Regions from separate parts of the Homo sapiens genome. Here region 2 is linked to region 1. The links are contacts of gene promoters, found by promoter capture Hi-C in blood cells and fetal thymus (Javierre and others, 2016). All regions are on one chromosome and are shown on one strand. Each heading gives the region's core, a stretch centred on a gene start or on the middle of the fragment in contact. The rest is flanking DNA. Distances are from core to core; before and after follow the strand shown. Region 1 holds the start of RAB11FIP1 (RAB11 family interacting protein 1). Region 2 overlaps FGFR1 (fibroblast growth factor receptor 1).

Region 1 (5,058 bases), core at 2,034-4,533:
GCAGGAGAATTGCTAGAACCCAGGAGGCAGAGGTTTCAGTGAGCCGAGATCACGCCATTGCACTCCAGCCTGGGGGACAGAGTGAGACGCCATCTCAAAAAAAAAAAAAATTCCACCTTTCAATGCATATCTTATTCTTTAAATCTCAGCTATCTTGGGCACCAGGGCATCAGACAGCACCCTTGGCACCTTGGAAAGTCCCAGAAAGTTGTAGATGGAAAGTGGAAATTTCATCTACCCATAGAGATGCAAAGAAGCCTTCCTTTGCAGTTATTTTAAGAAAGAAAAAAAAATCAACTAAGCACCATTTTCCTGGAAGTCAATACTGTGACTAGGTGGTAATCGGTTCACATAATAGGTGGGAGTTATTGTATAGGTTTAGGGTTACATTGGATAAAATAAGAAAAATGAAGATGCAGAGACTGAACTCTTCCTGAAAAAAAGAGAGCTCAAGGTTTCAATCTCTCACAAAGCAGTTGCCAACCTTTTCAATCACTTCTTGGATACATTGGCCCCATTAATCCAGGAACCCAGAAACATCTTACAAACATCAATTAAGTCTGGCAACATGCTCTATTTACAAATAGAGAAACTTGGGTGTTTAGGGACAGAGAAGCCCAACAATGAGTCAGGGCTGCTGTGGGCACTGGACCCAGGACTCTGGAATCTCCATCTCTGGCAGGGAGATGTGATCTACCTCTCAAGGGGATAAAATGTCCACATAAGAAACAGGTGGCAGAGAAGGAAGTGAATACACACATGTTGGGATGGCGCAAGACAACGGATGGCCAACAGCACCCATTTGAAGCTGAAGGGAAGCCAACCCACCACCCCCAGTGTCATTTAATCAGATGGAAGATCAGCATTGCTGCAGCCCCTCCTTAGCAAAAACACTGCTCACCTTATGGCTTGTAAATTGATGCTGTGAGATACCCCATCCATCCTCACATCAAGGCTAGTTTTATCTGATGTGAGTTCAGAAATGCCTATTCATCTCTGGCCAGGTAAGTTTGCATCATCAAATATTCCATTTGCAAGCCTACATGCTGAAATGGAACCCACCCCACAGTAAAGGGAGCCTCCAGAGGACAAACCCTCTGGCTTTTCCTGTCTCCCACAGAAGGGAAAGTTAAAAGGCTATGTATATCTAAAACACACAAAGCAAATCAGTGTGATTCCTAGACTATAGGCTTTCGGTGCTAACTGACTGGCCTGTGTATTTAAGATCTAACAAAGTAACCAGCTAAGCTAATCGAGGCTAGCTTTGGCATACTAGATGAACATAATCGAACGTTCCTTTGGGTGAAGCACTGCCCTTTCCGAACACCTGTGAAACAAATAATTCGGTAATATCATGGAGTGAATGGTTTTTGCCCAGTTTTTACTGCAGAAGTGAAATAACCTGACACAATCTTTGGGAGCTACAGGCGAGCAGACATCCACCAGGATTAGGACCAGAGAGAAGAACTCTACCAACTCCAAAAGGAAACAATGCCCAGTTCTGCTCCGTCAAGGGCCCACCCGGGCTCCTTCCAACCTGGAGAAATCTTTACTAACATGGGGCCCAGGGCACACACCACACTGTTGTAACATTCTTTCTGTAGGGGCAAATTCTCTTCACCAACCCCCTAGGCAAGTATGAGGTAGGGGAAGGGGTTAGCAAGTCATGTGACAGCCGGCAAACGCCATTCCCCTCCCCCAACCTCCACCCACCCCGCATTGTAAAGGCGTTGCGCCCGGGGTTAGCCTTTAGGGTGGGGGTGTCAGCTGGTTTCATGCCTCCTGTTCCTCTGCCCTGCGCCCTGGCCCAGTCATTCTCGGCTCGAAGTGTTCTTCTATTCAGTGAAATACCCAGGAGGCCTTCCACCCAAGCGAAGGCGAGTATCAGACACGGGCTACCACCCTAGTAAGAAGAAGGCACCTGCCCACGTATAGTTGGAATTCATCTAAAATTCACTTAGTGCTTACTGTGTGCCAGACGCTGAGGGGCGTCCTGCAGATTCAAAAGCGCCCCAGGCCCGGCGCGGTGGCTCACGCCTGTAATCCCAATACTTTGGGAGGCCGAGGTGGGCGGATCACCTGAAGTCAGAAATTCGAGACCAGCCTGGCCAACACGGTGAAACCCCGTCTCTACTAAAAATACAAAAATTAGCCGGGCGGGCCGGGCGCGGTGGCTCACGCGTGTAATCCCAGCACTTTGGGAGGCCGAGGTGGGTGGATCACGAGGTCAATAGTTCAAGACCATCCTGGCCAATCTGATGAAACCCCGTCTCTACTAAAAATACAAAAATTAGCCGGGCGTGGTGGCGCACGCCTGTAGTCCCAGCTACTCGGGAGGCTCAGGCAGGAGAATCGCTTGAACCCAGGAGGCGGAGGTTGCAGTGAGCCGAGATCGTGCCACTGCACTGCAGCCTGGCGACAGAGTGAGACTCAGTCTCAAAAAAAAAAAAAAAAAAATTAGCCGGGCGTGGTGGTGCGCGCCTGTAATCCCAGCTACTCGGGAGGCTGAGGCAGGAGAATCACGTGAACCTGCGAGGCGAAGTTTGCAGTGAGCTGAGATCGTGCCATTGCCATTGCACTCCAGCCCGGGCGACAGAGACTCTGTCTAAAAAAAAAAAAAAAAAAAGCGCCCCAGATACGGCCCCTTCTTCCAAGAAGACCCAAAGCTGGCAGAGCTGGGCGGGACAGCCGCAGAAGGGGAAGCCAGGTGAGAACACCAGCACCGGCCGAGGGCTCCGTCCCGAAAGGCCTTCCCCGCTGCTGCCCGGCTTACTCTCGAAGGGTCCAGCGCCCAGACCGCCCTGCCGGAGGGGTCCGCGCCCCCAGGCCGGGCCCTCCCCTCCCCGCCCGCACTCACTGCGTCTTCCTGCGGCCCTGGTCGCGGTGCAGATCCCGCAGGTCCACCTCGGCGCGGCCCAGGAACTTGTCGAGGCCGAGCAGCGCGCGGTGCAGCACGGTGAGCTGCAGGGTGGCGGCGGCCGCGGGTCCGGAGGACAGCAGCGATGGCAGCTCGAAGGTGGCCTCCTCGCGCCACACGGGCGCGCCCAGGCTGCGCTCCGACACGGAGGTGGCGTACTTCTCCTTGCCCACCTGGATCACCGCGTACGCGTCGCTCGTGCCCCCGGGGCCCTTGGCCCGCAGGCCCCGCGCCTGCAGCACCGTCACCTGCACGTGGGTTGGGGACCACACGGCCCCCAGGCCCCGGCCAGCCGAGACCATTAGGGACATGGTGACGATAACACTCCAGAAGCGAGGAGAAGATCGCCGCGACTGGCGGCCTCCACGGCCCGCCCCGGCGACCAGGCCACTTTAAGGCTTCCGGCCACACCCCCGCCAGGCCACGCCCCTCATGGCCAAGGCCACGCCCCTGCCCGAGCCGCCTGCTCCACCTGCTGCGCCGCGCCCCGCCCCGCCCCGCCCCGCCCCGCCGGCCTCAGCAGCGCGGGCAGCTCCGGGCACCCGGGCGCCGGAGGCGGGGCTGGCGCGGCCAGGCAGGCAGGGGATCACGTGCGCAGGGGCGGGCGCATCGAGAATCTAATCTGAGAGGTGGTAGGTGACGGATGGGGTCCCCAGCTGCCAAAGGTCGCACGGCGGGAAGGAGCTGGCCGAAGCACTGACTTGGAAGTCAGACCTCATTTCCAGGGTCACATCGCCAGTCGTGGCCTTGCGCGGATTACCTAACATCAAGTCTCAATTTCTTCACCTGACAATCACCTCCTAGGATTGCTGTAAAAAATAATAATAATAATGCATTACAGTTCTTGGCCCAGTGCCTGGCTCATGGTGAGTTCTCAGTAAATAACCATGACCAGCACGTTGGGAGGCTGAGACAGGAGGATCTCCTGAGCCCAGGAGTTCGAGACCAGCCTGGGCAACATAGCCAGATCCCCGTCTCTACAAAAAAAATTAAAAATAATTAGATAGGAGTGGTGGCAAGCGCCTGTGGTCCCCGCTACTTGGGAGGCTGAGTCTGGAGGATCTCTGGAGCCCAGGAGGTCGAGGTGCAGTGAGCCGAGATCGTGCCACTGCACTCCCAGCCTGGGCAACAGAGCAAGACCCTGTCTCAAAAAAATAAAGTTGGTAACTATGAGGGTGCTAAGGAAGATGCCCACCCAATTCACTGTGCTTTCTACTTCTCCCGCTGGAAAGCCTTGCTCTGGAGGAAGGCAGCTGCAGAGGAAGGTGAGGACCTTGTGAGGGCCGGAAAAGGGGAAGGTATCCTGGGGAGCATGAGTTCAATGTGGGAGTGTCCTATTTTGCCCTCCCCCCACCAGATAAGGCGAGGCTGAGTTAGAAAAAGGGAAGAAAGGAGGAACTGAAAATGGGATTGCCAAATCAAACATCGGGACAGTGGCAGGCCCCCAGCCCGCAGTTCCCCATTTCTCCCTTGCCAGGCCCTCTTTAGTCTCTCCCTGCCTCTATCCCTGGGCTCCCAGGCAGTCCCTTTCTTGTTCCAAATGCCTAATAGATCGGCTGCTTCCCTTCATTTCACAGGTCCTAGTTCAAAGGCTCAACTGTTTAACGAGTCATCAGATTGGAAAGGTCACTTGGAAGGTTTTAAAGTTTTACAGTTAAGGAAAGACTCAGAAGAGAGGAGTGACATGTCCAAGGTCCCTCTGCAGAGCTGGGACTGGGATCCCAGTGTCCTGACTCCCAAACAGCTGTTCAGTGCATCTCTTGATTCTTCCAGATCCACAGAACCCCAATCTTGGATGGCTACTCGTGTCCCTCCAATCTCCAGGCTCTCCTCCCTCTGGTTCACACTGCACATTGCTTCACTAACCTGCTGGCTGCCTCACCAGCAACCGCGTTACCTTCGGACTGAACAGAGATTTCAAGGTACTCCATTTTGACCCCACCCTACCTCATTCTCCTCTATCTCCCGAACAAACAAACCTGTAGCCCAGACACTTTTTACTTCCAGGCCTTTACGTTGTACCCTTGACTGTCTTTGCCAACCTCCCACTGCAAGGGTTCACTCATATTTCTCCAAGGTTTGACTTCCTATGCCCTGCTGAGGGCAGGGACCAGGTAGTGACTTATTCAACTTGTCTCCTT
Region 2 (5,180 bases), core at 1-2,500, 520 kb after region 1:
GTCTTTTTATAGTAGTCGATGTGGTGAATGTCCCGTGCGAGGCCAAAGTCTGCTATCTTCATCACATTGTCCTCTGTCACCAGGACATTCCTGGCTGCCAGGTCTCGGTGTATGCACTGAGGAAGGAGGAAGGGAGAGCGGGAGGCGGGGAGGTGAGGGAGCTGGAAGGCTCTGGGCGGCCGCCACCCATGCAACTAGCCGACTTGTCTCATAGAACTTCTGCCACACTGCTCTGCCCCCCGAACCTTTGCTTTCCCTCTTCTAACATTCTCTGCCAGCTCCAGGCTTCTCATCACAGCAAGCGCTCCTCCCTTCCTTCCCCAAAGACTGGCCCCTTATGCCTCTGCTGCGTCTGCAGCGATGCATGCTCCTAGGTCCTGCCTCCCAGCACAGCAAGTCCACATGGGGCTGGGCTCAAACCAGGCCAGCCCTTACACACCAAACACTGCACTCAACACTCACAGACAGTTTCATTTTATCTTCATAACAATTCTACAACAGGTATTGTTATACTTTATTTTCTTTTGAGACAGGGCCTTGCTCTGTCGCCCCGGCTGGGGTGCAGTGGTGTGATCATGGCTCAGTGCAGCCTCAAACTCTTGGGCTCAAGCTAGCCTCCCACCTCAGCCTCCCGAGTAGCTGGGACTATCGGCACGCACTACCACACCCAGCTAATTTTTTAATTTTTTTTTTTTTTTTAAAGACGGGGTTTCAATATATTGCCCAACCTGGTCTCACACTCCTGAGCTCAAGCAATCCTCCCGCCTTGGCCACTGCACCCAGCTGATATTATTATTATTTTGTATTTGAAGAATTTTAAGATGCTAAGTAGCTGCCTGAGGCTACGCAGAAAGTGGCAGTGCACAGATCGGACCCTGCATCAGTCTGACCCCAAGGCCACCTGGCTACACTGGTGCTCCTGACTCTGCAGTTCCCAGAGAGCCTAAGACAACACACAGGGCACACAGGGCCAGTGCTCAGTGCATCCACAACGCCACCACAAGATGATAAGTCACAGGCTGGAAGACTAGGGGGGCTCTGTTCCCACCCTGGCATTACCCAGGGGAGCCTTCAGGTTCCACACCTTCTTGGAGGCCAGATACTCCATGCCTCGGGCCACCTGGTAGGCGCAGGACACCAGGTCCTTGGAGGAGAGCTGCTCCTCTGGGTTGTGGCTGGGGTTGTAGCAGTATTCCAGCCCTGGGGGCCTCCGGGCCTGCAGGTACTCCCGCAGGTTGCCCTTGGAGGCATACTCCACGATGACATACAAGGGACCTGCAGGCACAGGAGAAGAGGCCATGGGGCCAGCAGCAGGTGAGCAGGTTTGGCTTCACCTCAAAGAAACCCCACCCCCAGCAGCACACCCCGGCCAACCTCCCATCTCCTGCCTCCTCTTAGGGGACCTGGGAAATCCATTCTACTACCCAAAAAAAATCAGAGAAATAATTACTCCCAGCATAGTCCAGAAAATTCCCGAGCAACATTGGGGTAAGAGCCCCAGTTTGTCTGTTTATTTTGAGATGGAGTCTCACTCTGTTGCCCAGGCTGGAGTGCAGTGGCGCAATTTCGGCTCACTGCAACCTCTGCCTTCTGGATTCAAGTGATTCTCCTGCCTCAGCCTCCCAAGCAGCTGGGATTACAGGCATGAACAATGCCTGGCTAATTTTTTTTTTTTTTTTTTTTTTTTTTGAGATGGAGTTTTGCTCGTTGCCCAAGCTGGAGTGCAATGGCGCGATCTCGGCTAACCGCAACCTCCGCCTCCCGTGTTCAAACGATTCTCCTGCCACAGCCTCCCGAGTAGCTGGAATTACAGGCATGCGCCACCACGCCCGGCTACTTTTTGTATTTTTAGTAGAGATGGGGTTTCACCTGTTGGCCAGGCTGGTCTCCAACTCCTGACCTCAAGTGATCCACCCGCCTCACCCTCCCAAGGTGCTGGGATTACAGGCGTGAGCCACTGTGCCTGGCCTATTTATTTATTTTATTTTTGAGACAGCGGGAGTATCTCCCAAGCTGGAGTACAATGGCGTGATCTTGGCTCACTGCAACCTCCACCTCCCGGGTTCAAGCAAGTCTTATGCGTCAGCCTCCTGAGTAGCTGGGATTATAGGCATGCGTGACCATGCCTGGCTAACTTTTGTATTTTTTAGTAGAGATGGGGTTTCACCATTTTGACCAGACTGGTCTCGAACTCCTGATCTCAAGTGATCTTCCTGCCTCGGCCTCCCAAATTGCTGGGATTACAGGCATGAGCCACTGCACCCAGCCTGAGCGCTCTTAGACCATAATTACTCAGCTGCCTCTGTTAACACACCACGTGTGTGAATCTAGGTATCTGTATTCCTGAATGAACACCAATGAGCGGAGCCCAGATCCCGAGATAACACATTTTAAACCTCTGCCAAAGCAGCCTCTCTTAACCCCCTTCCCTAGCTGTGGCTGAGAGAGGCCTTGGGACTGATACCCCAGCTCAGATCTTCTCCCCGCTGGGCAGGGAAAGCCAGTCTGGCCGGCACCCACCATCCTGCGTGCAGGCCCCCAGCAGGTTGATGATATTCTTATGCTTCCCGATCATCTTCATCATCTCCATTTCTGAGATCAGGTCTGACAAGTCTTTCTCTGTTGCGTCCGCTTTAAAGAACACGTTGAGACTCATTTACTTGGGAAGGGAGGAGGGCAGGATAAAGGCTAAGGGAGTGGGGTATGTGTCGAGGGGCTGCTTTTCCCTGGGACTTGATTCTCTCCTCCCCACTTCATCCAAACTTGTTTTCTCTTCCCTCTCATGGGAGCCGTTGTTGCAATAGGTGGTAGTGAGTGGGCAGGGATGTGGTGAGGAAAGCCTGCAAGCGATGGATCCAGGATAAACACCTGACCACAGCCCAGGTTGACGCCAAGGAACAGAGTGACGTCATAGAACAATCTCAAGGTGCAGAACACCCCCTCCACTCCCAGGTAACCCCAAGCAGGCAGCGGAGCAGGTGTGGGCAGCAAAGGCACCAGAGAAGCTGTTCTGCTGGGCCCGAGGCCTGCTGTTTGCTTGGAATGGGACAAGATTTTCTTTGCAAGGACAGAAGCATCACTTACACTTCAACATCTTCACAGCCACTTTGGTCACACGGTTGGGTTTGTCCTTGTCCAGCCCGATAGCCTCTGCCAACACCACCTGCCCAAAGCAGCCCTCTCCCAGGGGTTTGCCTAAGACCAGTCTTTCGGGGGAAACAGAGAGTGGCATAAGTTGGGGCTGGTGAAGTTCAAACCTTGAGAGGCACCCCATCTCCACCTCTCTGTATTTCACCCAACTGCGAGCAGAAAGTGGAATGAATGTTTCTGCAGGCATTTCATGAACCTTCACCGCCCAGAAGGTGTTAGTATACACACCTTCCACCACTAGAATAGCAAGCAAGGAATGCCTTCAAAAAGTTGGGAGTCAAAGTATTATTACCTGTCCCGAGGCAGCTCCCAGCGAGGGTCTTCGGGAAGCTCATACTCAGAGACCCCTGCTAGCATGGGAGTCCCACTGGAGGAGAGCCGTGATGGCCGAACCAGAAGAACCCCAGAGTTCATGGATGCACTGGAGTCAGCAGACACCTGCAAGGAAGAGTGGGGTCACCCTAGAGCAAGGAGGGGGGACGGGGTGACTCCTTCCCATTCTTAGTCAGGGCTTCCCAACAATGGCAGAGGCACATGTCTGTGTATCTGATGTTCTTTCCTCAACACAGAGTGGTCCAAAGACCATGGTAGGCCAGGAGGCCCAACTTCTAGGACTGACCTATTTCTGCCACAAGCTGGCCTTTCTGGACTTCACTCACCTTTAAAATAAGCAGACCAAATGCACCTCTTCCAGCTTGACATTTTATAACTGATCATTGCAGTAACAACTCTGTTCTCCTGACTCTTTGCAAATACTTTGCCTTAGCTTATGGATTCCTAACTCCCAAAGCACCTTCCAGAATGAGCACAGGCTTCTGAGGGAACGGTCATTCTTGCACACACCTGTGCCATCTGTACCATTTCCTCCCGTGGGGAAGGGTGGGCACACAGGGGACAAGGGTATGGTATGGCTGAGATGGTTTGGCTGTGTCCCCACCCAAATCTCATCTTGAATTCCCACGTGTTATGGGAGGGACCTGGTAGGAGGTCATTGACTCATGGGGGCAGGTCTTCCCTGTGCTGTTCTTGTGATAGTGAATAAATCTCACGAGATCTGATGATTTTATAAAGGGGAGTTTCCCTGTACAAGCTCTCTTCTCGTCTGCCGCCATGTGAGACGTGCCTTTTGCCTTCTGCAATTGTGAGGCCTCCCCAGCCACGTGGAACTGTGAGTCCATTAAACCTCTTTCTTTTGTAAATTGCCCGGTCTTGGGTATGTCTTTCTCAGCAGTGTGAAAATGGACTAATACAAACAGTTCTCTTCTCTACCCTGCATCTCTGCACTTCTAAGCAGCCCTTGGGGACAGTTCAAATTCATGCTATTGGCTGCACATTCTGTCCAAATAGGACTTCCTCCCAATCCATGTCCCAGGAGTCCGGAGGACTTGCAGTGTGATATGGAGGGTGCAGGAAATTCACGGGCTACACTAGCTTGAAACAGACTCTAGAGCACTTAGTTCATGATATTCCACTGTGCCTTGCCCAGAAGCCAGAAAATAAGGCCCAAAGCTATAAATTAGGGACAATGGAGAGGGCAGGGCATTAGAGGCCCAGAGAGAGAGGTGGTGCTGAGTGTGCAAATCCCCCATCTACTTTCTGTTACCTGTCTGCGCAGAGGGATGCTCTTGGCCAGCTTGTGCACAGCCATCTGGCTGTGGAAGTCACTCTTCTTGGTACCACTCTTCATCTTGTAGACGATGACCGACCCCACCATGCAGGAGATGAGGAAGGCCCCTGTGCAATAGATGATGATCTCCAGGTACAGGGGCGAGGTCATCACTGCCGGCCTCTCTTCCAGGGCTGAGTCAGTGCGAACAGGGTGTTAGCAGGCTTGGAGGGCCCCGTCCATGCGAGGTCCCGCTCCATTAGAAAAGCAACACCTGTCTCCTGTCCCCTGGGAACTTTTAGGGAGAAGAACCATGGCAAGTTCTAGCTAGGACTGGGATTGTGGCACTAGGAGGATCAGGCAACCCCCTGATTTTGGAGGCTGCCTTCAATGGACTTGAGCCATGGAAAAGGGATGGCCTAGA

Evidence for each region. Contacts are between HindIII fragments. The CHiCAGO score rates a contact against its expected background, and 5 or more counts as called.
Region 2: a contact is called between a fragment that was not itself captured here and the fragment with the promoter of RAB11FIP1 in region 1, in 1 of 17 cell types (neutrophils). The highest score is 5.4, in neutrophils.

The regions. Positions count from the first base shown.
Region 1 is chr8:37,896,214-37,901,271 of GRCh38, forward strand. RAB11FIP1 (RAB11 family interacting protein 1) reads right to left here and starts at 3,284. Exons shown (of 6, transcript NM_001002814.3): 1 at 2,858-3,284. The coding sequence starts at 3,228. RefSeq lists an enhancer at 907-1,539 and silencers at 2,669-3,098, 3,319-3,548. The HindIII fragment of the contact is 20,306 bases long and covers 1-5,058 here.
Region 2 is chr8:38,414,786-38,419,965 of GRCh38, forward strand. FGFR1 (fibroblast growth factor receptor 1) reads right to left here. Exons shown (of 18, transcript NM_023110.3): 9 at 4,748-4,950; 10 at 3,443-3,588; 11 at 3,085-3,206; 12 at 2,521-2,631; 13 at 1,085-1,275; 14 at 1-116. Among named protein-coding and RNA genes, the nearest start is that of LETM2, 31 kb to the left of the region's middle. RefSeq lists enhancers at 593-1,363, 1,804-2,469, 3,378-4,141, 5,002-5,180. The HindIII fragment of the contact is 8,773 bases long and covers 1-5,180 here.